Regions from separate parts of the Homo sapiens genome. Here regions 1, 2, 3, 4, 6 and 7 are each linked to region 5. Evidence: promoter capture Hi-C in 16 types of primary human blood cells and fetal thymus (Javierre and others, 2016). All regions are on one chromosome and are shown on one strand. The core of a region is centred on a gene start or on the middle of the fragment in contact, and the rest is flanking DNA. Distances in the headings are between cores, read along the strand shown. Region 1 holds the start of IFI16 (interferon gamma inducible protein 16). Region 2 has its middle 15 kb from the start of AIM2. Region 3 overlaps PYHIN1 (pyrin and HIN domain family member 1). Region 4 has its middle 19 kb from the start of PYDC5. Region 5 holds the start of OR10X1 (olfactory receptor family 10 subfamily X member 1). Region 6 overlaps IFI16 (interferon gamma inducible protein 16). Region 7 overlaps AIM2 (absent in melanoma 2).

What was found. Contacts are between HindIII fragments. The CHiCAGO score rates a contact against its expected background, and 5 or more counts as called.
Region 1: a contact is called between a fragment that was not itself captured here and the fragment with the promoter of OR10X1 in region 5, in 1 of 17 cell types (erythroblasts). The highest score is 9.5, in erythroblasts.
Region 2: a contact is called between a fragment that was not itself captured here and the fragment with the promoter of OR10X1 in region 5, in 1 of 17 cell types (erythroblasts). The highest score is 5.1, in erythroblasts.
Region 3: a contact is called between a fragment that was not itself captured here and the fragment with the promoter of OR10X1 in region 5, in 5 of 17 cell types (erythroblasts, M2 macrophages, fetal thymus and 2 more). The highest score is 7.2, in erythroblasts.
Region 4: a contact is called between a fragment that was not itself captured here and the fragment with the promoter of OR10X1 in region 5, in 5 of 17 cell types (erythroblasts, M2 macrophages, M1 macrophages and 2 more). The highest score is 10.1, in erythroblasts.
Region 6: a fragment that was not itself captured here is called in contact with the fragment with the promoter of OR10X1 in region 5 in 1 of 17 cell types (erythroblasts); the score reaches 6.1 in erythroblasts.
Region 7: a contact is called between a fragment that was not itself captured here and the fragment with the promoter of OR10X1 in region 5, in 3 of 17 cell types (megakaryocytes, erythroblasts and activated CD4 T cells). The highest score is 7.6, in megakaryocytes.

Annotation. Positions count from the first base shown.
Region 1 is chr1:159,009,017-159,013,124 of GRCh38, forward strand. IFI16 (interferon gamma inducible protein 16) reads left to right here and starts at 891. Exons shown (of 12, transcript NM_001376587.1): 1 at 891-1,145. It overlaps LOC124904432 (a long non-coding RNA gene), which reads right to left. Exons shown (of 2, transcript XR_007066671.1): 2 at 3,491-4,108. RefSeq lists an enhancer at 748-827 and a silencer at 3,600-3,709. The HindIII fragment of the contact is 5,786 bases long and covers 1-4,108 here.
Region 2 is chr1:159,089,886-159,093,710 of GRCh38, forward strand. It overlaps a transcript of AIM2 not described here. Among named protein-coding and RNA genes, the nearest start is that of AIM2, 15 kb to the left of the region's middle. The HindIII fragment of the contact is 1,199 bases long and covers 1,396-2,594 here.
Region 3 is chr1:158,960,844-158,964,839 of GRCh38, forward strand. The region is part of intron 7 of PYHIN1 (pyrin and HIN domain family member 1); the gene reads left to right. Among named protein-coding and RNA genes, the nearest start is that of PYHIN1, 31 kb to the left of the region's middle. The HindIII fragment of the contact is 4,341 bases long and covers 1-3,583 here.
Region 4 is chr1:158,981,946-158,985,985 of GRCh38, forward strand. It overlaps a transcript of PYHIN1 not described here. Among named protein-coding and RNA genes, the nearest start is that of PYDC5, 19 kb to the right of the region's middle. The HindIII fragment of the contact is 1,925 bases long and covers 1,541-3,465 here.
Region 5 is chr1:158,578,259-158,582,090 of GRCh38, forward strand. It overlaps OR10X1 (olfactory receptor family 10 subfamily X member 1), which reads right to left and starts at 1,641. Exons shown (of 1, transcript NM_001004477.1): 1 at 661-1,641. The coding sequence starts at 1,641. The coding sequence ends at 661. The HindIII fragment of the contact is 11,722 bases long and covers 1-3,793 here.
Region 6 is chr1:159,028,585-159,032,499 of GRCh38, forward strand. All of the region lies in intron 6 of IFI16 (interferon gamma inducible protein 16), which reads left to right. Among named protein-coding and RNA genes, the nearest start is that of IFI16, 21 kb to the left of the region's middle. The HindIII fragment of the contact is 1,575 bases long and covers 666-2,240 here.
Region 7 is chr1:159,068,108-159,072,063 of GRCh38, forward strand. AIM2 (absent in melanoma 2) reads right to left here. Exons shown (of 6, transcript NM_004833.3): 3 at 461-594. Among named protein-coding and RNA genes, the nearest start is that of AIM2, 6.7 kb to the right of the region's middle. RefSeq lists an enhancer at 1-208. The HindIII fragment of the contact is 683 bases long and covers 2,188-2,870 here.

The sequences.
Region 1 (4,108 bases), core at 1-2,500, 430 kb after region 5:
CAGCACGCTAAAGGGCACCCACTGTCCTTAACAGAGAAAAATACACTGCTGAGCAGAGGATTAAACAGACTCCTCACACTACCGGAAGTTCAGTGCATTTTCCAGGATTTTCAAGTCTTCGATGCTGTCATGTTGAGAGTCCACTATCCACGTTTGTTTATCCAGGAATAATGCAGAAAATCTGAGCATTCGTGAATCTAATCATTGAGGTAAAGTAACCTAGTCATGGTCAAGAGGACAGCTAGTGTTAAACTCCTTCATATAAATTTAAGGAAGGATTTACATATTCATAATGACTTTCTGATCTGGAAAGCCCAGGCTTGTCAGTTATTAATAATTGGATGAATACTTCAGGTAGTATTTAAACAAATAGCGATTTCATAGCAGACATTTCCCCAACCAGGAGATGCAGTAAAGTATTGGTAGCAATAGATGCTCCTACCAAGATCTCCTCCTGCCACTGCCACTCTGTGCACAGGAAAGGAGGGGAGAAGAAGCCATGTTGCTTCTCTTATATTTGAGCATCATTTAAGGGAATATAAGTCTCTAATGACTCACATGTAAGTCTGCTGGGTAAGAAAGTTCTAATGTTGGAACTCCTTTCAGCTATCGAATTTTGTAAGAAAAAAAACTTATTTGTGTTTATATACATTTATGAGATACAAGTGTAATTTCGTTACATGGATATATGCCATATTGGTGAAGTCAGAGATTTCAGTGTGCACATCACCCGAAAAATGTTAACTGTACCCATTAAAGTAATTTCTCATCCCCCATTTCCCCTCACCACATGCTCCAGCCCTTGCCAGGAAACTGTTCATTTTCTCTGACTAACAGAAACGAAAGCTAAAAACACTGGTGGGAGGAGTCTCCACATTGTTTCCTACTCCATTTTCTCTGGGGCAATAGCAGAATAGGAGCAAGCCAGCACTAGTCAGCTAACTAAGTGACTCAACCAAGGCCTTTTTTCCTTGTTATCTTTGCAGATACTTCATTTTCTTAGCGTTTCTGGAGATTACAACATCCTGCGGTTCCGTTTCTGGGAACTTTACTGATTTATCTCCCCCCTCACACAAATAAGCATTGATTCCTGCATTTCTGAAGATCTCAAGATCTGGACTACTGTTGAAAAAATTTCCAGTGAGGTGAGTACTGTTCCTGATTTTGTAAATATGATCTTGTTCCTTCCTTGAAGTCCCCAGAATCACAAGGGGACAATCAGTATTGGTTATTCAGGGTCATGGGATGATGGGAGTAGGGCTGAGTATTCAGAAAAGTGAAAACTGAGTTGCTTGATATGAATCCTTCATTTACTTAGGAAGATAACAGGCATCTTCTATTCCACCACAACTGAGGACTGAACAAGAGAAAATGCATTTTGACCGTTGCAGATTTTAAAATTAATTATCCGAGTGTATACTGGCATAAGTTGGTACTTAGAAGAGGGCTTCTGTTATTTTGGCTGGAAGAAGTGTTGGAAACTCGGTAGCTGTGGTGGGTTCTCAAGATAGTGACATGAAAAAAGTATCATGAAAGAATATTAAGTAAAAAACATATCTGAGCATAGAGATGTATTATATGACATCATCCCAATTTTACAAAACATAAGAACAAATGTACACAGAGTAGAAAATTTTTTTCAGTTTCACAAACACAGTTACTCAAGCACATGGTGTCTTAATATTTTCATAAGTATATTGATCCTTTACTTTAGCTCCATTCTGCACCGGGTGCTAGCGGCAGAATTTCAATCATTTTGGAATTACTCTCTGCCCTCCTGAAAGTTAATGATTTTTTTTTTCCTTGTGGCAAGGTATAGGGGAGTGGAGGGGAAGGCAGTTAGGAAAAGGTTACTATTGTTTACTTTTCAAATTTTTAAAAGATGTTTTCTATAGCCTGGTACAATATTTCATGTGTGCTTAAATGGAATGTGAGATTCTTAAATGTTGTTTTCAGAATTTTATTAGATAAATGTTGTTAATTACGTTGTTCAAATTTATTATATCATTACAGATTTTTTCACCTTGTTCATTTAGTAATTGAAGCATAAACTGAAATCTCCTATTATAAAGTTTGCTTTTTTGGCCGGGCACAGAGGTTCATGCCTGTAATCCCAGTACTTTGGGGGAGACCAAGGCGAGCGGATCACTTGACGTCAGGAGTTCCAGACCAGCCTGGCCAGCATGGCGAAACCCTGTCTCTATTAAAAATACAATAATTAGCCGGGTATGGTCATGTGTGCCTGTAATCCCAGCTACTCAGGAGACTGAGGCAGGAGAATCGCTTGAACCAGGAGGCAGAGGTTGCAGTGAGCCGAGACTGTGCCACTACACTCCAGCCTGGGTGACAGAGCAAGGCTCTGTCTCAAAAAAAAAAAAAAATTTTTTTTCTTTGTAGTGCTCTCACAATCACATACATGTTATGTGTATATATAATATACATTCACACACAAATATATGTATATATAATCATGTATACAAACAGGTACACACATATATGTGTGTAGTGATGTCTGTACATGTGTGTATATGAAGAGAAATATATACTAATTATAGTACCATGAAGCACTATAAAATAATAAATAATATCATTAGATAAATTAGATAAATTCATAACTAAAACATAATTTTCTAGGAGTTGAAACTTTTATCATGTGGTATCTGAAGTTACTTTTGGGCTTAAGGTATATTTAAAATTACACAAACATAGATAAACTGGCTTTCTTTAGTTATTCCTTGCAAGATAATTTTTAACAATTTTTTTCACCTTTTGTTAACAATATATATGTAGATTTCTTAAATCAAATTTGATGAAAGTTGTCACTTAACAGGTCAGACCTTTTAGGTATATGCTGGTAATTAACAATCTGCTGTCTTTACTTCAATTTATGACACTTCTATATCATCTCACTATCTAAGACAATTGCTTTAGTGAATTGTCATGTTCTTTTTCTTCCCTCCCTTTACCATGCTGTTGTAATTTCTGTTTCTCTTATATTTGATCAGGGTTTTCTTTGTAAGACATTAGGAACACCTAAAAAAGTTTATTTTTCACTCTTCTTATCTTTTGGCTGGCAGAATTTTTAATTTTATTCATGTTTTCCTATTAAATATTATTTTCAATAGATGTTTTCTTGTGGTATGAGTCTTTGTCTTGCAAAAAGACTGAGGCCCTGAGTATCACAAAATAGTTTTTGAGACTCTTCTATTTAAATATCATTTTGCCTAAATTAAAACTCTAAAATGTAAAATTATATTTTCCCTTAAGACAAGATGAAAGCACCTCTTCTGTGCTGTGGAGCTAGATACATTTTGAAGTTAAGAATCTGGAGGCTTCAGAAAGGCTATTTAGTGTATATATTCTAAATAGTGTCTTACTAGAAACTCCATTGGGATATAAATAATTACTCCAAAATCAAAAGCACTAATATTGCAAAACAAAACATGTGAGTGTTCACATTTCAGTGAAATAAAGATTATACATAGCCTACTGTCATCCCAAATCTGGTTTTATTTTGCAAATAAATTGTGCTGTCACACTTGTTGGAAACAAGTGCTCAGTGCCACAAAGAAAAACCAGCACTTAAACAGGAAATTTCTCAGCAAAGCATATTTGCTTCTACAGAAGGGTGCTGCCTGCGTCAGTCACAATGCACATTCTAAGCTGACCGGATTGGCTACTGCTTTAAATTCTATAGGGGTAATTAGGCGGGAAGGAAGACACTGTCCTGTACCAATTAGGCGGGAAGGCATGTCTGGGGCGGCAAAGGAAGGAAGGGTTGTTTACAGAACAGGAAAGAACAGGAAAGTTTGAAGACGAACTTATTGTTTCTAGCACACTCACAAAATAAGTCAAAACTTTCCATTGAAAATTTTTTTTGGTTTTGCAATTGATATGGAACTTTGGACCAACATTATATAAAAATAACTCCATTGTCCTGCTTCAGGCAGTTTTGATATAGAGATTCACTTTCAATTTGATTCTTGAATCTTTGTAGGTGATCTATTCCTCATTACCGAAGGCTTACAGAGTATTTTTGTTCATTATATTCTTCAGTTTCACTATAATGTGTTTTTGTATAGATTTTCCCTTCATTCTCTGGACCTTT
Region 2 (3,825 bases), core at 745-3,244, 510 kb after region 5:
CAACCAGACAACCAAAGTGCCTATTTTCCCAGCTGCTAGAAGTGTTACAGCTGACACCTGAGTCTGTGTTCCAGGACTGCCCTATGCTGAAGGGAACTGCCTTCCCCAAGGTTGCATCCTTCCATGGAGAAAGCCTGAAGCCAAGGATTTAGGGTCTATGAGGAGGTTCAAGGTCACAGCCTTCTTGCCTCACTTAGGCATAACTAGAGGCCATCCCAGCTCTAGGGTTCCCAGGGGGATTGGCTGCAGCCCTCACTGCAATTTAACTTCTCCCTCCGCCCAACCCAGTTTCCCTCTCTCCTTTATAGGTGTTCCCAAGAGCACCCTCTAATAAACTTCTTGCAGGCAAATCTAACAGTCTGTTTCTTGGGGACCCAACATAAGACAACATTCAACTCTTAACTTCAGTCATATTCACAAATACTGTCACTTTAAATAAAGTGCAGGAATGCAGTGTAAAGATACATACACCAGAAAAAGATGTGACTATAAAGTGCAAAAATATACCAGAATGTAAAAATAATACATGAATTTAAAGTCCATGAATCAGTCTCTCTCGCATACTGCTAGAAAGCGTGTGACTGCTTCACATTTCATAATTTTGTCATTGTAATTGTCATCACGCCACTAAAATTCCATGCCTTTCAATTTTTGTTTTTGTTTCTATCTCTAAATAAAAATGTTTATTTAAATGCCTTCTATGGACACTTCAGACCAAGTCCAAAACTTTACCTTAAGGTGAAAACTCTTACTATTTTTCCTACAAGGTTGTGTTTGGGAGGTTATTCATTTGTCTTTTATTTTTTACCATGAGCTGTTTGTCTAGTCTCCTGACATGGTAACTGGAGACACAGATCCCTCTGTCAGAGTCAGCATCAAACATGTGTAAGGCATGTTTTGACTCTAGCAAACCATCAGGGAAATAATTTTTGATCGTTCTTTGAGTTAAAATTGTCTTTTACATTGATGCTAAAGACTTTCCCTAAGCAACCTCTACCACATTAGCATAAAGTGTCTGAGTTTCAAAGATTCCACCTCAAATGGCTCCCTTGTGTTCAGCACCATCACTCCCTCCTGGTATTCTTCTTCCTGAGTAACTTCCTATTGACCTCCTTTCCCTTTCAGTCTCTTGCTGAAATGGAAACATCAGAATGAAGGGGCAGGCTGTATGTGGGAAAGATGAATCACCATTAAATGAGAAACCTCAATCCTAATGCTAGTCTTGTAGAAATTGGCTTGTATGGTCCTGAGAATGGTAAAAATAATTAATACAAATAACTTTAAACATTACTTAATAAAGTAACAAATAATACAGCTAGAAAAGAGAATGATAGGATAAAGGTTACATTTTTTATATTTAGCCATTCTTGGTCTTATAAGTGTAGAAGACAGAAAAGCTTGTGTCCAATCCTATTAATACCTTAAAGCCATGTGTGGCATTACAACCACTGAAAAAATGCTGGGTAGAGTCAGTCCACAATGACATGCTTGTCACGACGTGCTTTGGCAGGTTCTGCCTTTCCCTTTACTTATTCTAGGCTGGGTCCCTTTTGACTACTGTCAGCAGTGAAGAGGAGGAGAAACTCCTCTGATTTCTGAAGATTCACAAGTTACAAGACTATCTTATATGCTTGAGGATGGCCAGCATGTAACTGGTGACAATGAACAAAATTATATACTTACAAAGTGCAATCGTTACATTATCCTGATCATCTCTTGTGTTGACAGCAATCTGTAGGATGGGATGAATCAAGGCAGCCAGCTGAAGTCCTGCCCTCTGGATGCCCTTGGGGGAAGGTATTTGGAGAGTAACTTAGGGGGTGATGTATAAAGGATGTGGTAACAAATGTTATGAGTGTGTGTGTGTTCACTGACACACCAGCAATTGCCAAAGCAAAAATGGTGGCTTCGTCCCTCTCTATTGAAAAGGGCCTGCTTAGAATGTGGATGCTTAAACTGCTGTCACCTATAAAAATATTCTAGCATGAAAGGGGCCTCAAGGATACACAAAACAGAAAGTAAATGGTATCCACTGAAGTTAGCAATGTAGCAGGGCCACAGGAAACAGAGGGTGATTGCCCAAGGGCACACACACCCTAAACATAGTCCTATTTCTAATGTTCAAATTAAGGAAAAAAACAATTAAGTGAAATCCTTAGGTGAGTCATCTTATCATGAATTAAAAATTATTGAAAAAAGAGGGCAATTATAACCTAACAATTCTAATTCCTGATATTTGCTGTAGGAAACAAATATATAAACTCATTTAAATAAATGACTATTCACAATTTTAGCAGTAAAACATGAAAATATTATCTGAACATGCAAAACTAAGAGACTAACCACCAAAGTGACTCAGGAAATGATTCACCATGTTGCATAAGCTGAAAACAATTAAGTTACTACATAATATGTAGAAGATGGCCTAAATGTTATAAATATATATATGCAGCAGGAGTTTGTAATAGCAGATAACAATTTTAGCCCTAACTATGAATAAGTTAAACTCCAAAAACATACTCCGCAATTACACAGATTAGAGACTGGCCCCTCTTCTGGACCCAGGCCCACATTATCAGACTGAAGGAGGTTAAAGCTTATTTTCTGAGGACAAGGAAGAACACGGTGAAGGGTAAGGTGGGAGAGGTGGGGAAGCATAGGCAACATCATGTCAGGAAGTGGAGAAGGAGGTGAATCCTCATGTCCTAAGTATTCTCTAGGCCCAGCCACAACTCTGGGAATAGGAACAATTGTACCTACGTTCAGACAGAGAAACCAAGATGCAGAGGAAAGAGGATAGGTTACTTGCCTGAGGTTACAAAGGTGTAAGTAGAGGAGTCAAAATTTGATCCCAGGGGCTGGACACACTGGCTCACGCCTGTAATCCTAGAACTTTGGGAGGCCTAGGTGGGCGGATCAATTGAGGTCAGGAGTTCGAAACCACCCTTGTCAACATGGTGAAACCCCATCTCCATTAAAAATACAAAAAAATTAGCTGAGTATGGTGGTGGGCACCTGTAATCCCAGCTACTTGGGAGGCTGAGGCAGGAAAATTGCTTGAACCCAGGAGGCGGAGGTTGCAGTGAGCCAAGATCGCGCCACTACACTCCAGCCTCGGTGACAGAGTGACGCTCCGTCTCAAAATAAATAAATAAAAATAAATAAATAAATAAATAAATAAATAATTTGATCCCAGAACTTTTACTTCCAGAGGCTGAAATCTTAACCCCATACCATTCTGATTTCGCATAAATAAAATACTGAAAGCACATTAACCCATACAAATACACAAACACACGCAACTTCATGACACTAATGGAAAAGAAGTACTAATGACAGCATATATATAATTCTACAAGATCTAGCATGATACTTCAATTCCCCTTCTCAGCTATACAATATTAAAAGGCATCTAAATTTCCTGAGGGTCAGTGCAGTGACGTAGCCAGAACACACTGAATTCTGGGAGAAAAATTGGATTTAATATTTCTTACAGATTAACAAATCTTATTCACTGCTGGTAGCATAGGGAGATACAACTTGTTTGGAACATAATGCTGTATTATCTATTAATTTTGAAGACACATACATCTTATGACACAGCACTCCCAGTCCCAGCAAGACTTTTAGCAGCACTGTTAAAGCCAAAAAACGGGGAAACCTGTCAAAGGGACAAATAAATTGTGGCATATTCATGGATACTCATGTGCTGGAATACATTACAGCTGTGAAAATGAACTGCAGTTATGACATAATGAAGATCAGCAAGTTACAGAGGAATGTATATAACATTTTATTTATTTAGAAAATATATATATACATATA
Region 3 (3,996 bases), core at 163-2,662, 380 kb after region 5:
TTCCACCATTGTGATGGACTGTTTTATTTGGCTGTTTTTGAGAAGATAGTAACTCAAGATGTTTTTGTCAATAAGTGGTAGATATGAATAAAGAAGTTTCTTTAATAAAATACTTTCTATACCAATTTGATCTAGGGTTTCCATGAGAAAGGTAAACAGGGAGTATGAGACATAAGTGATCAGAGTAGACATCCAAATCCCTGCAGAATGAGTATGATACCAATCATAAATGATATTCTACTTTCTGAGTATTTACAGGGTACTGGTTTTTAAAACCTGCATTCTATATGTATATGTATATTATCACATCTCTTTTTCATAACACAGTCATGAGAATGCTACTCACAGCCTTATACATAAGAGAAAACTGAAATACATAGGATTTAAAAATATTCCCCAAGTTCACAAAGATAGTGAGTGTGCTAAATGTAAATTATATGTACTTTATGTATCTTTTCTTATTTGTTCTTCCTTACACTAACTTGATGATGTCATTATTAGTCACATTTCATATTTCTAAATACTGAGGAAATGAGAGGTTAAATCTTCATTTAAGATACTGCTTTTGAGGGCCAAGATGACTAGCTAGAAACAGGTAGTGTGTACCACTCTTGTAGAGAGAAGAGAGTAGCAAGTAAATGCTAGATCTTCAACTGGAACATCCAGGTGGACCATTGAGATCCACCGAGAAAACAACTTTACCCATGGAGAATAGAGAAGAGTGAGACAAGACAATTGCTCACCTGGGAATGGCACGGAGCCAGAGGAGGCTTCTCCACTGCAGGGAAATGGTGAGTGAGTGAGAGTCTCTGGGGACCCATACTTCTGCCACGGACCTTTGCCACCCTGGGCTCAGGAGATACCCCTATGAGACCACCCCACTGGAGCCTTCAGATTGAGAGGGAAAGCTAAGTGGAGCCTGGGCAGAGCCACCACTCAGGCATACAAGGAACCCTTGGAGCCTTGGATCCAAGTATCCTGGAATTAGCGGCTGCAGCTCTGGCAATAGGGGAGGTCAGGCTGCCTCACAGGCCTTCAGAAAAGGAGCTGAATCCAGGGGACTAAGCAGCACTGGACTCTAAGCCTCGCCTCCACTGCACCTCACAGGATAAAGTCCACTAGCCTAGTACTCCAGCCACCCCCCTGCCTGAGCTCATGGGCCGGTAGCAGCTCTGCACTTCCCTGGGTTGGAGCCCCCAGAGGGAGAGGAAGCCCACCATTTTTGCTGTTTCACAGCCATTGTCACGGCTGCCTTCAGGCCCTGGAGAGTGTGTGGTGATTAGGGACTGGCTGGATCCCCAGCACAGCACAGATGCCTCATGAAAAAGTGGCCAGACTGTTTTATACGTGGATTCCCGATGCCAGTTCTCCTCACTGGGCAGGACCTCCTGACTTCAGACTCCAGTTACTCCCTACCTGGGCTTTGGTGACTATAGCATCTCTATACTTCCCTGGGATGGAGCTCCTAGAGGGAAAGGTAGGCTGCCATTTTTTCTGTCTTGCAGCCCTTGCACCAGTTGCCTTCAGGTTCTGAAGGATGGGCAGTGATTAGTGATGGGCGGATCCCCAACACACTGGAGCCACCCCACGGAGAAGTGATCGGACCGTTGTATCCGTGGGTCCCTGTTCACATTTCTCCTCACTGGGTGGGGCCTTCAGGCCTAGGACTCGAACACAATTACCCTGCCCCCTCCTGAACACTTCAGTGGAAAGCAGCTTTGCATTTGTCTCAGGAGAAAATCTCAGAGACAACCCACAACTCCTCCACCATTGCAGCTGCAGTGGCACTGCCCTAACTGCTCTCGAGCTGGGAAAGAAACAAAGGGCCTGGTCACTACACTGGCACCTCCAGCACACAGCAGCGAGCATTGGAGAGGAGTCCAGTCTCTCTTCCCTATGAGCTCCCAGCCCTACTCTTCATCAGACAGGGCTCCTGGCTTTGAACTGCAAAACAGCTGCCCCACCCATGGCTAAGCATACGGTCTGCTAGTAACTCTGTGTTTCCCTGGGGAGGGGGTCCCAGAGGCAACTGACAGCCCCACTGCAACGGCCACAGCAGTGGTTCTGCCCCTGATCCCCTTAGTTCAAGGAAGAAACAAAGACCCCGAGAGTTTCACCTGCGCTTCCAGCACACCACAGTCACCATACAGGCAGCAAAGCACAGTCCCTCCTCCCTATGAATCCTCAGTGCCCCACTCCTCAACGAGCTGAGCCCCTAGTTGTGGCCAGCAATGTAACTTCCCATTCTCTAGCTGAACATTCCCAGTAGCAGCGGCTCTGCATCTCTCTGAGGTGCAGCTCCCAGAGGCAACCAAAAGCCCCTCTGCCACTGCTGCTGCAGTGGTACTGCCCTGCTGCCTTCAGACTGGGGAAGGAACTGCAGTTGCCCTAAGGAGAAGAACTCAGTCTATCTCTCTTGTGACCCACCCGTAGCCCTGCTCTTCACCAAACCGGGACCCTCTGGCTTGGGCCCACAGCACAGCTGCCCCATCTTTGGCCAATTGCACTGGCTGATAGCAGCTCCTCGTTTCTCTGGGGTGGACCACCAAGAGTCAAGTGAAAGGCCCTCTGCCATAACCACTGCTAAGGTTTCTTCTGCTGCAGCCTTCAAGCTGGCGAGGGAACATAAAATCTGAGCTCATCCCAGAGCTGCAGTGTGCCAAGCCAAGATCTGGAGCCAGTACTCAAGTGGGAAAGGAGCCCACACTTTCAGAGCACTGAGAGGGAGCATGCCCTGCATATGGCAGAGCAAGAGCCTACCTACTGGCCAATACACTTAAGCACCACCTACTGGATCACAGCCCAAAACTTCAACACCAAAAATATTTTGCTAATATAGACCCCTGTGTAACCATGGACAAGAATTTAGCTAGAAATTAAAACCCTGCACAAAGCCTCAGCTCTCTAACAACATCCAGGAAAGAAGGTTTCTAACTACTCAAAAGAAACAGTGCAAGAACTCTGGCAATTCAGAAAGCCAGAGTGTCTTGTTTCCTCCAAAAGATTGCACTAGTTCCCCAGCAAGGGTTCTTAACCAGGCTGAAATGGCTGAAATGACAGAAATAGAATTCAGAATATGGGTAGGAATTAAGATAATTGACATTCAAGAGAAAGTTAAAACTCAGCTCAAGAAATCTAAGGGTTTCAATAAAATGATACAGGAGCTGATAGAAAAAATGGCCATCATAAAAAAGAACCAAACTGATCTGATAAAGCTGAAAAATACATTACAAGAATTTCATAATGCAATTGCATGTATTAAGAGCAGAATGAAATAACCTGAGGAAAAAACCTCAGGGCTCAAAGAAATAGCTCAATCAGAAATGAAATAGAGAAAAAGGAATTAAAAAGAATGAAAAATCTTCTGAGAAAAATGGGATTATGTAAAGAGACAAAGTCTAGAACTCATTGGTGTCCCTGAGAGAGACAAGGAGAAAGCAAACACCTTTAAAACATATTTCAGGATATCATCCATGAAAAATTCCCCAACCTTGTTAGAGAGGCAAACTTTCAAATTCAGGGTACATAGAGAAATCCTGTGAGATACTACACAAAAAGACCATCCCCAAGACACATAATCATAAGCTTTTCCAAGGTCGAAATGAATTTAAAAATGTTAAAGACAGCTAGAGAGAAGGGGCAGGTCACTGGGAAGGTCACCTACAAAAGGAACCCTATCAGACTACAGCAGAACTTTCAACAGGAGCCTGACAAGCCAGAAGAGCTTGGGACCTATATTCAGCATTCTTAAAGAAAATAATTTCCAAGCAAGAATTTCACATACAGCCAAACAAAGCATCAAAAATGAAAAAGAAATGAGATCCTTTTCAGACAAGCAAATGCTGAGGGAATTTGTTACCACCAGACCTGCCTTATAAGAGATACTGAAAGGAACACTAAGTATGAAAAGGAAAGAACATTACCAGACACTACAGAAACACAATTAAGTACACAGAATAGTGACACTATGAAGCAACCACAGAAACAAGTCTGCAT
Region 4 (4,040 bases), core at 1,253-3,752, 400 kb after region 5:
AGAAAGATCTATTCATGGCTTTTAACCATTTTTAATGAAACTGTTTGGTTTTTGCTTGTTGATTTAAGTTCCTTATAGAGTCTAGATATTAGACCTTTCTCAGAAATCATAGTTTGCAAATACTTTCTCCCATTCTGTAGACTATCTTTTTATTCTGTTGATAGTCTAATTTGCTGTACAGAAGATCTTTAATTAGATCTCACTTGTCAATTTTTGTTGTTGTTGCTACATTTGCTTTTGGAGTCTTTGTCATGAAGTCTTTGCCAAGGCTAATGTCCAGAATAGTATTTCCTAGATTTCTTCTAGGGCATTTACAGTTTTAGGTTTTACATATATAAGTTTTTTTTAACTTTATATTGAGTAGATTTTTTATATGGTGAAAGGAAGGGTTCCAGTTTTAATTTTCTGTATATAACCAGCCAGTTATCCTGACACTGCTTGTTGAATAGGAAGTACTGTTTCCATTACTTGTTATTGTCAACTTTGTTGAAGATCCAATGGTTGTAGGTGTGCAGCTTTATTTCTGGGTTCTCTAACCTGTTCCATTGGTCTATGTATCTGTTTTGTTCTAGCACCATGCTACTTTGGTGACTGTAACTTTGTAGTATAGTTTGAATTTGGATAGTGTGATGCCTCCAGCTTTGTGGTTTCTGCATAGGATTATTTTGGTTATTTGGGATCTTTTTTGGGTTCCATATAAATTTTAGAATAGTTTTTCTAATTCTGTGAAAAATGACATTGGTAGTTTGATCAGAATAACATTGAATCTGTAAATTGCTCTGGAGAATATAGCCATTTTAACAATATTGATTCTTCCTATCCATGAGAATGAAATGTCTTTCCATTTGTTTGTATCATCTCTAATTTCTTTTAGCAGCATTTTGTAACTCTTGTTGTAGAAATCTTTTACCTCCCAGGTTAGCTGTATTCCTATGTGTTTATTCTTTGTGTGGCTATTGTGAAAGGAACTATGTTCTTGGTTTGGCTTTCAGCTTGGGTATTATTAGTTGTATAGAAATGCTACTAATTTTTGTACATTGATTTTGTATCCTGAGACTTTGCTGAAGTTGTTTATAATTTCTGGGAAATTTGGGGCAAAGGCTATGGGGTTTTCTGGGTATAGAATCATATTACCTGCAAAAGGAGGTAGTTTGACTTCCTTTCTTTCTATTTGGACGTCTTTTATTTTTTTTTCTCTTGCCTGACTGCTCTGGCTAGAACTTCCAGTGCTATGTTGAACCAGGAGTAGTGAGAGTAGGCAACTTTGTCTTGTTCTGGTTCTCAAGAGGTATGATTTCAGCTTTTGCCTATTTGTGATATGATGTTGGCTGTGGTTTTGTCATAGATGTCTCATTTTGAGGTATGTTCCTTTGATACCTAGTTTGTTGAGGGTTTTTAACATGAAAGAATGTTGAATTTATTGAAACCTTTTCTGCATCTATTTAGATAATCACGTGATTTTTGTTTTTAGTTCTGTTTATGTGATAAATCACATTTACCAATTTGCGTATGTTGAACCAACTTTGCATTCCAGGGGTAAAGCTTACTTGATCATGGTGGCTTAGCTTTTGCTGTGCTGCTGGATTTAGTTTGCTAGTATTTTTTTTTGAGGACTTTTGCATCAATATTTATCAGGCATATTGTCCTGAATTTGTTTTTCCTTTGTGTTTCTGTCAGGTTTTGGTATCAGAATAATGCTGACCTCATAGAATGATTCAGGGCAGAGTCTCCGCTCCTCAATATTTTGGAATAATTTTGGTAGGATTGGTATCAGCTCCTCCTTATCTATCAGGTAGAATTCAGATGTGAATCTGTCTGATCCATGGCTTTTGTTGGTTTGTAGGTATTTTATTATGGATTCAATTTCAGAACTTGTTATTGATCTGTTTAGGTATTCAATGTCTTCCTGGTTCAATCTTGGCAGGTTGTATGTTTTCAGGAATTTATCTGTTTCTTCTAGATTTTCTAGTTTTTCAGCATAGAAATTGTTCATAATGGTCTTTGAGAGTTTTTGTATTTCTGTGGGTTCCATGGTAATGTCCCCTTTGTCATTTCTAATTGTATTTATTTGGATCTTCTCCTGTTTTTTTTTTTTTTTTTGTATATTAATCTGGCTAGTGGTCTATATATCTTATTCTTTCAAAAAACCAATTTTTAGTTTTCTTAATTATTTTTGTGAATTTTCACATCTCAATTTTATTTGGTTCAACTTAGATTTTGATTATTATTTTTCTTCTGCTAGTTTGGGGGTTGGTTTCCTTTTGTTTTTTCTAGTTCCTGTAAATGTGATGTTAGGTATAAATTTAAGATATTTCTGACTTTTTGATGTAGGCCTTTAGTGCTATAAACTTTTCTCTTAACACTGCTTTAGCTGTGTCCCAGAGACTCTGATATATTGTATTTTTGTTTTCATTAGTTTCAAAGATTTCTTGATTTCTGCATTAATTTAATTTATTACCCAAAAGTCATTCAGGAGTAAGTTGTTTAATTTCCAAATACTTCTATGATTTTCAGAGATCTTCTTGGTATTGATTTGTATTTTTGTTGCACTGTGATCTGAGAGTGTGGTTGATATAATTTCTGTTTTTTGAATTTCCTGAGCATTGCTTTATGGCCAAGCATGTGGCCAAGCATGTGGCACAGAGTATGTGCCATGTGCAGATGAGAAGAATGTATATTCTGTTGTTGAGTGGAATGTTCCTTATATGTCTGTTAGGTCAATTTAGTCAAGTGTGAAATTTTGTTCCTGAATATCTTTGTTAGTTTTCTCCCTCAATGATTTATCTAACAATGTTAGTAGGGTGTTGTATTCTCCCACTATTATTGTGAGGTTAGCTAGTTCTCTTCATAGGTCTCTAAGAACTTGTTTTATGAATCTGGTTGTGCCAGTGCTGAATGCACACATCTTTAGGATAGTTAAGTCTTGTTTGTAGAATTGAACTTTTTATCATTATGTGATGCCCTTCTTCATCCTCTTTGATAGCTTTTGGTTTAAGGTCTGTTTTTTTTTTCCTGAAATAAAAGAGCAACCCCTGCTCTATTTTGTTTGTTTTCCATTTGCTTTATAGATATTCCTCCATCCATTTAATTTAAGCCTGTGTCTTTACATGTAAGGTGGGTCTCTTGAAGACAGCATGTAATTGAGTCTTGCTTCTTTATCCAACTTACCATTCTGTGCCTTTTAAGTGGAGTGGTTAGCCTGCTTATGTTCAAGGTTAATATTGATATGTAAGGATTTGATCCTGTCATAGTGTTATTAGCTGGTTGTTATGTAGACTTGATTGTATAGTTGCATATTGTGTCAGTGGAATATTTACTTAAGTGTGTTGTTTTGTGGCAGGTAGCAGCCTTTTGTTTCCATGTTCAGCACTCCCTGAAGGACCTCTTATAAGGCAGGCCTAATGGTAACAAATTCGCTTAGTGTTTGTTTGTCTGAAAAGGATTATGTTTCTTTTTCACTTACAAAGCTTGGTTCGGCTGGATATGAAATCATGGTTAGAATTTCTTTTGTTTAAGAATGCTGAATGTAGGCCTTTAATCTTTTCTGGCTTGAAAAATTTCTGCTGAAAGGTCCACTGTTAGTGTGATAAGGGTTCCCTTTGTACATGATCTGCCTCTTCTCTTTTGCTGCCTTTCATATGTTTTATTTACCTTGATCTTGGAGAATTGGATAACTATGTGTCTTAGGGATTGTCATCTTGTGTAATATCTTGCTGGGGTACTCTGAATTTCCTGAATTTACATGTCAACCTCTCTAGCAAGGTCAGGTAAATTTTCAGGGACAATATCTTCAAATATGTTCTCCAAGTTGCTTGGTCTCTCTCCCTCTCTTTCTGTGATGCAAATCAGTTGTAGGTTTGGTCTCTTTACATAAACTCATATTTCTTGAAGTTTCGTTCATATTTTATTATTTTTTCCTTTATTTTTATCTGACTGAGTTGATTTGAAGAACTGATCTTCAAGCTCTGAGATTTCTTTCCTCAGCTTTCCTCAGCTTCTGCTGTTAGTACTTCCAATTATATTATGAAATTTTTGTAGTG
Region 5 (3,832 bases), core at 391-2,890:
TATTATTATTATTATTATTATTATTATTTGAGATGGAGTTTTGCTCTTGTCACCTGGGCTGGAGTGCAATGGCATGGTCTCTGCTCACTCTGCCTCCTGGGTTCAAGCTATTCTCCTGCCTCAGCCTCCCGAGTAGCTGGGATTACAGGCACCCACCACCATGCCCAGCTAATTTTTGTATTTTTAGTAGAGATGGGGTTTTACCATGTTGGCCAGGCCGGTCTCAAACCCCTGGCCTCAAGTGATCTGCCCACCTCGGCCTCCCAAAGTGCTGGGATTACAAGCCTGAGCCATGGTTGACATCTTTAGATATTTAAAACATCACTCAGTGCAGTGGATTTATATGCTGTTTTTTCCTTCCACACTTTTTACTCAATTCATGAATACTGCAGGACACCCGGAAGTTGATTATCAGAATCTTTTATCTGCAGGGACATTCTTCTTCTGATACTGGATAGTAGAAGGGTTGGACAGCTTCTCTAACAAGCTAAGTAGATGCCTGTGGCTACTTAGTTCCCAGTCTGTGTCACTTGCTTCTTACATCCCAACCTCTGGAACAAGGCAAATGGTACAAGTTTCTCCAGGGGTCACAGGATAAATGCCCCTATTGAATTCTGGGGACATTGAGCCCTTCTTCAAACAAGCAGCAACAACCCAAGATTATTTTTTCAAGGCAACTGTGTTTCCCATCATTCTTCTAAAAGCATTTTTCATGTCCTTATTCCTCAGGCTGAATATGATGGGGCTGAGGAAGGGGGTAATGACAGTATAAGGGACTGCTATGAGTGTGTCATCTCCTGAGGCTTCTGGCTTCAAATAAACAATAGATGCAAAACCAAAGTGGATTATAACCACGGTGAGGTGGGAGGCACAGGTGGTGAAGGCCTTCTGCTTGCCCTCAGCTGAAGGGATCCTGAGGACAGTAGAAATAATGAAGACATCAGTCAGGATGATGAGCAGAAGGGTACCCAGCAAACCAGACACTGAGATCAGTGTTATAATGAATTCTGTGTGGTTACTGTCTATACAAGACAGCCTAATAACTGCCAGCATATGGCAGAAGAAGTGTTTGACAAGGTTGGGTCTGCAGAAAGAGTCCCTGAATATCAGTGCAGTCTCTGTAAGAGAGATAAAGAAGCCTGCAGTGCAAGCAGAGGCCACAAGTTGTCCACATACAATGTTGGTCATAAGCAGTGGATATCTTAGAGGGTTACAGATGGCCAGGAAGCGGTCATATCCCATCAAAGTGAGAATGATACAGTTTGTGCCACCAAGTCCCAAGAAGAAGCACATCTGTAAGCTACAACCTGTGACTGAAATGCTTCTGTCCTTGGCCAGTAGATCTTCCAGCATCTTGGGGACGATGGTCAGCGTATAGCAGGTCTCAGAGAAGGAGAGTGCACTAAGGAAGAGATACATAGGGGTGTGGAGGGACCTGTCCACCCAAGTTAGACCCATGATGATCAGATTACCTGCAAGGGTGAGAAGGTAGAGACAAAAGAAGACCACAAAAAGAAATGTCTGTACATGTGGGTACACAGAAAAGCCAACAAGAATGAATTCCTTCAGGATTGTCTGGTTGATCTTCATCGTTTGAATGTCTGAAATTTGAAAGAAACAACAATAAACATTCAACACCATTATCTTTTGATACCATCAAAGGAAAATTGTGATGACTAAGATAAATCATCAGAATTACAATTACCAACTGCTTTTTCTTGTAGTTTAGCAAAACTATGTATATGTAGGTAATGTGTTTTTCTCATTTTTCATCCATTCATTTTTTCCTTTATTCAGCAGCTAATTAGTGATGACTTAGTATATGACATCACTATGTATATGACAAGAAGGCTTGCTCTGGCCTATTTTTAAAAGGATTTTATGAGCATGTGGTATAATATGGGAGGAAACACTCCAGTTGATGCTCAGATAAAGGAGGTTCAGATGCATTAGGTGAGCTTTATTTGGATGAGCTTCTGAACACAGAGAAAACTTTTAAGTGGCTAATAGAGTCAGGGTCCAACACAGAAACTTCCACACAATGTATGGTCTATAAATATTTACTGCGTAAATATCAAGAATTGATTTCCAAGTAATTTTAGGACAAAACTTGGACAATCACTTGCAATTGTTGGAGAAGCCCAAAGTCATTAACCCTTCTTGGAGAATATATTTAGGTCCTAGAATTTTAAAAGAAAGTTAAAAAAACATGTGTCATTATTTCTGCTCTGAGAAGAGGGAAAGAAGAAAGATAGGGTAGCCTAGGACTCTTAGGATTAATAGTAATTAATTAAATCTGTGGATGGTTTTGATAAGCAGACTATACAAGCATAGTGCAGGTGGCAATTGAGATTGTGTCTATTTTGTTAATTCCCAGCTCAGCATTCAAAGAAAATAAGTGGCATTTAATAATTGTATAAATTTTTCAATAATGCTACATCTGATTTAATCTCATAGTCCTCTGATTTCTATAGCATGTTGTTAGTCCCTATATTTAACACATTGTTTCAGCCCTGTAGTATATTGAGCTACTGTTTTCCCTGCCCCATATGTCAACATATTTAATAACTAGCATTTGTGGGGTTTATATTTTTCCAAATTATTTCAAATGTTTATTGATTTTACTCTTCACAGCATAAATATAAAGTGAATGGGACGGTTGCGAAATGGGTAGGACAAGTGTGATTACTTATTTTAGAAATAAAATTATGTCTTGGAAGTGGCATATTTGTGACTAGAAGCAAAGAGATTTGACTTGAATTGTATACTCTTTTCATTTATCAATGCTTAGTGCTTCAAGAAAGAGACCATAAGTCTTATATTTTTGTATTTTTCAGAGTAATAATATGGAGCACTTTAAGAAGGTAATAATTCCTGGTGAATGTTAGATGGATGAGTTAATCATCAAAAAAGTGCTTAGTATATAAATGATTTTTGTTTTCCTTTGTTATTCAGCACTGTATAGCATTTGATTTTTGAGCATGGAGGTTAACAGACTTTCCACTCTAATTAGGTTTTGTTTAGGCTAAGATTAAGCATTCTCATGGCAGAGTCTAACTTATCACTGACAGTCAGAAGACACAGTAGAAAAAAGGTCTGAATTATAAGTGGTTCCTAAAATAATCCACAACCCTTTGGACTCTACTTTAAAGGTCCCTTTGGTTCTTTGTCTTCTTAGACCTTACAAGTTTCTTACTCTCTGACAGTCATACATGAATCACATGACTTAATCTTTTCTTATCTCCTATCAACTCTTTCTCCATTCTGTTTCCCTTTCACTTACTGTATCTACTCTTCTTAGTGAGCAGTCATTTCCCAATAAGAAGACCATTTTTCTGTTCTCTTACCTAAGGGAATATTATAGAGGACCATGTCTATTATAACCCGGGGCTTCCTCTTGAGGCCTTTTGGTGTGAGCCTCTTTAGTAACCACATTCAGTACGAGTATCTTTGGTTTCCAAATCTACTTGCAGATGATTGTTCCACTTTTCTCTATGATCAGCTTTCTGCTACATTTCAACTGTTCAGAGGCATCTTTTTCCTTCCAGAAGTATTAGGCTTCAATAGGTTCCTTCTGCTTATTCCTAAGCCACTGCAAAAAATTCCTCCTATCAGTAGAGCACTTCATACACCAATGCTCCCAAGCACTCTTGACCCTTCACAGTAACTCTGTAAGAAAGGAAATTATGTGGATTCTACAACTAAAGGATTAAATATAGCAAAGGGTAAATATGAAATAGATTAGCAAAACAATAAGTTATTTTAGTACTTGATGGCCTTGGTACAAAACCCAAGCTTTTTCTAACATACTACCAGAAAAAAAACAGTCTGA
Region 6 (3,915 bases), core at 203-2,702, 450 kb after region 5:
TGTTGGACTGTCTAGTGCTTTCAGTGGAGTATTGAAGTCAACCAGTATTATTGTGTTGCCATCTGTCTTATTTCTTAGGTTCAGTAGTAATTGTTTTATAAATTTGGGAGCTCCAGTGTTAGGATTGTGACATTTTCCTATTGGACTAGTTCTTTTAGCATTATGTAATGTCCCTTTTTGTCTTTTTTAACTGCTGTTGCTTTAAAGTTTGTTTTTTGGTGTCCATTTGCATAGTATATCTTTTTCTACCCCTTTACCTTATGTTTATATGAAACCTTATGTTTATGTGAGGCCTTATGTGTTAGGTGAGTCTCTTAAAGACAGTAAACACTTGGTTGGTGAATTCTTATTCATTTTGCTGTTCTGTATGCTTTAAGTGGAGCATTTTGGCCATTTATATTCAATGTTAGTATTGAGATGTGAGGTCCTATTTTATTCATCATGCCATTTGCTGCCTAAATACCTTACTTTTTTATTACTGTGTTATTGTTTTATAAGTCCTATGAGATTTATGCTTTAAATGTTTTATGTTCTATTTTGGTGTATTTCGAGGATTCATTTCAAGATTTAGAGCTCTTTTTAGCAGTTCTTGTAATGCTGGCTTGGTAGTGGCTAACTCTCTCAGCATTTGTTTGTCTGAAAGAGACTTGATCTTTCATTTATGAAGCTTAGTTCACTGGATACACATTCTCGGCTGATAATTGTTTTGTTTAAGGAGGCTAAAGATAGTACTCCAAACCTTTCTAGCTTGTAGGATTTCTGTTGAGAAATCTGCTTTTAATCTGATAGGTTCCTTTATAAATTACCTGATACTTTGCTTCACAGCTCTTAAAATTCTTTTCTCCGTCTTGACTTTAGAGAGCCTGGTGACTATGTGCCTAGGCGATGATCTTTCTCCAGGGTGTTCCCCGGGTGTTCTTTGAGCTTCTCGTATTTGGATGTCTAGATCTCTAGGAAAGCCAGGGAAGTTTTCCTCAATTAATCCCTCAAATATGTTTTTCAAACCTTTAGATTTGTCTTCTTCCTCGGGAACACCAGTTATTCTTAGGTTTGGTTGTTTAACATAATCCCAAACTTCTTGGAGGCTTTGTTCAGTTTTTTTTTTTTTTTTTTGAGACACACTTTAGCTCTTGTTGCCCAGGCTGGAGTGCAATGGGGCGATCTCGGAACACTGCAACCTCCACCTCCCAGGTTCAAGCAATTCTCCTGGCTTAGCCTCCCAAGTAGCTGGGATTACAGGTGCCTGCCACCACGCCCAGCTAATTTTTTGTATTTTTAGTAGAGCCAGGGTTTCACTATGTTGGCCAGGCTGGTCTCATACTCCTGACCTCAGGCGATCCACCTGCCTCAGCCTCCCAAAGTGCTGGGATTACAGGCATGAGCCACCATGCCCGGCAGCTTTGTTCATTTTTAATTCATTTTTCTTCATCTTTGTCAGATTGAGTTAATTCACAAGCCTTGTCTTCAAGCTCTGAAGTTCTTTCTTCTACTTGTTTGATTCTATTGCTAAGACTTTCCAGTGTGTTTTGCATTTCTCCAAGTGTGTTCTTCATTTCCAGAAGTTGTGATTTTTTTTTATGCTCTCTATTTTTTTGGAGATTTTTCCATCCATATCCTGTAACATTTTTTAAATTTCTTTAAGTTGGTATTCATCCTTCTCTGGTGCCTCCTTGGGTAGTTTAATAATCCACCTTCTGAATTCTTTTCTGGCAATTCAGAGATTTCTTCTTGGGTTGGATCCACTGCTGGTAAGGTAGTGTGATCTTTTGGGGCTGTTAAAGAACCTTGTTTTGACATATTACCAGGATTGTTTTTCTTCTTCCTTCTCATTTGGGTACACTATATCAGAGGAAACATCTGGGACTCAAGGGCTGCTGTTAGGATTTTTTTTGTCCCACAGGGTGCTCCCTTGATGTGGTGCTCTCCCCCTTCTCCAAAGGATGGGGCTTCCTGAGAGCTGAACTACAGTGATTGTCAACACCCAGCAGAGCTACTGTGCTCCAGGCTCCAGGCTGGTACTGGGTAGTGTCTGCAAAGAGTCCTGTGATGTGGTTCGTCTTCAGGTCTCATCCATGGATATCAGTACCTGCTCCTGTGGAGGTGGCAGGGCAGTGAAGTGAACTCCATGAGGGTCCTTGGTTTTAATTTTGTTTATTGGGATAATTTTGTGTTGGTTGTCCTCCAGCCAGGAGGTGGAGCTTTTAAGAGAGCATCAGCTGCAATAGTATAGGGAGGATACAAGCTTGCCCTAGGGTCACTTGAAATAGGATTTGAGTTTCTCAGGTGGTGGGTGGGGGGGCCACAGAGCTCCCAAGAGATTATGTCCTTTGTCTTCTGGCTACCAGGGCAGGTAGAGAAAGACCATCAGGTGGGGGCAGGGTTAGGTGTGTCTGAGCTCAGATTCCCCTTGGACAGGGAAAGCTGATGCTGCTGTGGGGGATGGGGTGTGATTCTCAGGCCAATGGAGGTATATTCCCAAGGGAATTATGGCTGCCTCTGCTGTGTCATGCAAGTTGCCAGGCAAGTTGGGGAAAGCTGGTAGTTACAGGCCTCATCCAGTTCCCACACAGCCTGAAAGGCCAGTCTCACTCCCACCATCACCCACCAACAACGCTGAGTTTATTTCCAGGCAGCAAGTGAGCAGAGCTGAGAACTTGCTACCAGCCTCCCTGCTGAGAAAGCAAGCAGGGTTTTCAGAGTTCAAGCCTCCCTGCCTGCTGTGGCTTCTGTGCTGGTGTCTGCACTCCCAGATCACCCCCACCCCTGGGTTCTGTCCAGGAAATTTTGTGTTCGGTCGAAACTTCAGCTGGAAGTTTTCTTCTCCCTGTGGTATTTCCCCAATTCTACTGGCAGCCCTCCTGAAGGACCTTTGTGAGACAAAGTCAGTAATGGCTTCCCTGGGGACTGAGAGAGCCCATAGGGCTCTTCCCGCTGCTTCCTCTACCCCTGTATTTCGCTCAGCTCTCTAAATTCACCTTAGCTCCAGGTAAGGTCAAATCCTTCACTTGTGATCCAGACCTTCAGGTTCCCCAGTGAGGATGTATGTTCATGGGTGGATGATCCCCTTTCACACTTTCACACTTTGGGCACTCACAGTTTTTCTGCTGTCTCCTGGAGCCTGCAGCAGCAGTCCGCTTTTTTTCAAACGTGCCATTTTGAATATTCCACTCACATTTAAATGGAAAAGCCTATTAAGATATATTAGGAGAATGATGTTCCTCATAGGCTTCAAAAGGATATAAAACTCGTGGTAAATAATAAAATATTTGAAGAAATTAGGAGGGTGGGGAACCAATATAATGCAGTGGCCAAAAGCAAGGACTTTGGAATAGGAAAGACTTGTTCTACATCTGGCACATTAGTTTCCTGATATTGGGAAAAATAGCTTTTAAATATTTCTCATAAGATTGGTTTAAAAATTAAATGAGATAATGGAAAAATATTTCTTATTCCATTGCCTTGTACATTATGGGAAATCAATGTGCAATAGGTCCTATTGCTCTTAGCAAGATAAAGACAAACACTGGAAAGATTTCTAGGGAGAGAAAATGTCACATGCAAATGTTAAAATGTGAAACAGCATAGTGAGTTCTGTATAAATTGGTATATGTAGAAAGGTATAGGAAAATGATGCAAGACAGGTAAAAAGCAGCCCTCCAACAAGCTGGCTTTTGTCATAAAGACAGAAATGGAGTCTCCAATGTAAAAACATCAGTAAGTAGATATTGAAAGATTTTAGGAAGAAGAGTACTTGATCATTCCACATTTTAGCAAAAAAAATATTCTGACAATTGCCTGGAGGGATACATTAGAGAGAGACCATGTTTGGAAGTAATGAGACCTATTAAAATCTAATAAAGGATGATATTCTCACAAATGAAAAGATGTTGTGCTTCCTCTAATATTGAAAACCAT
Region 7 (3,956 bases), core at 1,279-3,778, 490 kb after region 5:
ACAAACCACAGACTCCCTCACAAATCTTGGGAGCCCTGAAAGACATTCTCAGCTCCCGAGCTCCCTGTAGGGTAGGCCAAGGCCTCTATTGCAACTACATTGGACTTGACATTCTTCCTCTTCTTCTCCTTTCACTTCCTCACAGATATTAATTCTGAAAGTGCTCTAAAATAGACTTCCTGTAAACAACGGTCTATCTCAGAGTTTTCTTCTTATAGAATCCAAAACATAACAAAGTGTTAATGTGTCCAGAACCTGGCAGAGATTAGAAGCTCAACAGGTGTTTAATCTGATGAATCAAAGGTAGTTCCTGTTTTTGTGACTCAGAATGCTTTTCATGCTGTGGCCTTGCTTCCCTTATTTGCATGCTGTGAGATAAAGAACAGAGAACAATATGGGAAGTGACAGTGACAGTGATGCTCTTACAAGGACAAAGACCACTCCACTCTCCTTATCCTACCTTAACATGAGGAGAGACTTTTGGTGCAGCACGTTGCTTTGCGACATCATTTCTGATGGCTGCAGATGCAGCAGGACTCATTTCAGCTTGACTTAGTGGCTTTGGTTTTGTTACCGATTTGTATTGCTTATCAACTGATTAAAAAATGAAAGACATGGCCAATAAGCATATAAACATATGAGCAGTGCACATTTTCAAATGTCACCAGGAATAAATACTAAAACCATATTAAGATATCTTCAAGAACAGCTAATTTTTCTTAAAAAAAAATCATATTTTAAAATGAAAGAAACTGGACCTGGCACAGACACCAGTAATCCCAGCACTTTGGGAGGCCAAGGCTGGAGGATCACTTGAGGCCAGGGGTTTGAGACCAGCTTAGTCAACATAGGGAGACCCTATCTTTACAAAAAATATTTTCAAAATTAGCCAGGTATAATGGCACATGTTTTTAGTCCCAGCTACTTGGGAGGCTGAGGCAAGGATAACTTAAGCCCAGGAGTTCAAAGCTGCAGTGAGTCATGATTGCACCACTGCACTCCAGCTTGGATGACACAGTGAGACCCTGTCTGTCTCAAAAAAAAAAAAAAGACAAGAAACAAAAACTATGAAGTAGTAGTCGTCTTAAATTGGTATAACACTTTGGAAAATGGTTTGGGACGCTATTTATTAAAATTCAATATCTACTTACCTTAACATCCAGTAATACCATTCACAGGTGTACAGTCAAGAGAAACACACATACAAATACAAACATACAAAGATAAGTATATAAGGCTTATAATGTACATAAATATTCATAGCAGCATTATTCATAATGGCCTCCAATGACTAAAATAACAATAAAAATACACCAATTCTCTCTCTCTATATATATGTATATCAGTTTATGTGTATATGTAATTATCAATTAAATGGAATCTTATGTAGTAGTGAAAATGAATAAACTGCTGCTATGAAACAAGGGCTGATTTCTTTCTTTTTTTTTTTTTTGAGACGGAGTCTCACTCCGTCACCCAAGCTGGAGTGCAGTGGCGCAATCTTGGCTCACTGCAACCTCTGCCTCCTGGGTTCAAGTGATTCTCCTGCCTCAGCCTCCTGAGTAGCTGGGATTACAGGCTCATGCCACCACGCCTGACTAATTTTTGTATTTTTTTAGTAAAGATGGGGTTTCACCATGTTGTTAAGGCTGGTCTTGAGCTCCTCACCTCGTGATGCGCCCACCTCAGCCTCCCAAAGTGTTGGGATTACAGGCGTGAGCCACCGCGCCTGGCCACAGATTTCTAATTATGTTCTACAAGGCCTTGCATTTTCCTTCTGTCGAGGGGACCCCATCCTGCCCTCTGAAGATTCTCTGTACTGCAGCCATACTGGCCTTCTTTCAGTCCTCAAGCAAGTCAACACCTGCTGTCAGAGGGATTTTCACACAGTGTTCCCTCTGACTGAAGGTACCTTTAACTCCTATGCATTTTTCACAGCTTAGTGCAAGTCACTTCCCCATGGAACCCGCTTTGACCAACACCAACTCTAACTCCTGGCTTATGTTAATGCTCCTTTGACACATGCTGCTGAAGAACCATCTTCCTTTCCATCAGAACATTTGTCTCAGTTAGTTACCTGTCTCAGTTAATTTGCCTGTAAGAAAAATATCTACTTTCCCTTTAGAGTATAAACTGTACAAAATTTGGATTTGTTTTTAAAACCTTGTTTTATCATAAGAACCTAAAAGCTTTCCTTGTACCTATTAGCAATTCAATGGATATTTACTGAATGGATGAAGAAATGGATGGATGGGTGGCATGTTGGCTCCTCACTAATGCCTACAAAATGCAGTCGTATACTCTGGCTGGGCTCCTCCACGTCTATGGTCAGGTTATATGTTATCGTGAAAAGCCAACTCCTACTCCTGATTTTTAAAAAGACCATGTAACAAGATGGCCATGTTTGATGACTTAAGGCACTCTCAGGCAGAAGAGGGCCTGGGAAATTATTAGATGTTATTTCTGATAGAATTTGAACAATTCTGGACTGAAATAGCAAGGCAATCACTGATTTTACTAAAAAGAGAAACGATTTAATTATTAGAGCTAAGAGTAGAATGAACTGTCTTATGAGGTAGTAGGTACTCTGTCATTACCTTTCAAAGATCAGAAAGTGGTTGACTGTCTGACAGGGATATTGTAGCAGGATCTCTGCACTAGGAAGAAGTTAAACTAACCTTCCAATGGTAAGTTAGTTCCATGAAATTGGTTTCAGAAAGGTATGCAGATAAAGTCTCTCTTCTATGTTCACAGCATCGGAGAGAAAACAGCATCAAGGGAGGCGGAAGGAATCAACCTACCATTCTACCACATCACATCAGCCATATTTCATTTCACACACTGTGGTACCAATGCAATATTTGTGGACAAGCTTGTCTGCCAATTATAAATCTCTCATTTGCCTTAATAATCAGGTGCACATTGTTACTGATTATTTCATTTATCATTTTCAGCATTTTATTTTAATCTTGCAGGACTTTTGTGGACTTTGATCACATTTTCTCTTAGCTTCCTTTTTCTACGCTTATGTGTCCTTATATTTTCTCATCTTGCTTCATACAAAAGCTTCTCCTGTCTACTAATTATTGCCTCTGTCTTCATTAAAGATTCTCCAGGTATCTTCTACCTTCCATGAGGTGAGGTCATGAGTAGAATAGCATATAGCACTCTACATGCAGACATGCAATGGCAATGGAGAAGGATCACTTAACCAAGAATGACAGATTAACTGTTCAAAAAATAAAACAAAAACTGTTTTCCTAAAATAATAGAAATAGCATGGACACACAAAAATTTCCTACATTCAAAAGCGGCCTAAGTATGTCCGTGGATAGAATTTTAGAGCTATGAAGGAACTTAACTGCCTTCTTGTATAGCATGCAAGAAGCATACTTTGTGTTTTGTTGTTGTTGTTGTTTGAGACAGGGTCTCACTGTTGTTGCCCAGGCAGGAGTGCAGAGGTGTGATCTCAGCTCACTGCAACCTCTCCCTCCCAGGTTCAAGTGATTCTCGTGCCTCAGCCTCCCAAGTAGCTGGCATTACAGATGCCCGCCACCATGCCTGGCTAATTTTTGTATTTTTAGTAGAGACAAAGTTTCACTATGTTGGCCAGGCTGATCTCGAACTCCTGAACTCAAGTGATCCACCCGCCTTGGCCTCCCAAAGTGCTGGGATTAAAGGCGTGAGCCACTGCGCCTGGCCCAAAAGCATACTTTGAATCCTACAACTGTTACATTTGGAGACTCTCATTTGGGAGAGTCCTTGGATAATCTACTCCTGAGTTTCCAAGCTAGTCCCAAACTGGATCTTTTTTAGCTAAGCAGAATAACAAAATCCCAGAATCATTAGAATAGCAAAATGGGGAGAAGATTGTAGAAGGGGAAATTTTGTTCTATCCTGGTCAAAGAGAAGAATTAATTCTTGATTTATTACCAAAATAAAAGATATTTCTAAAT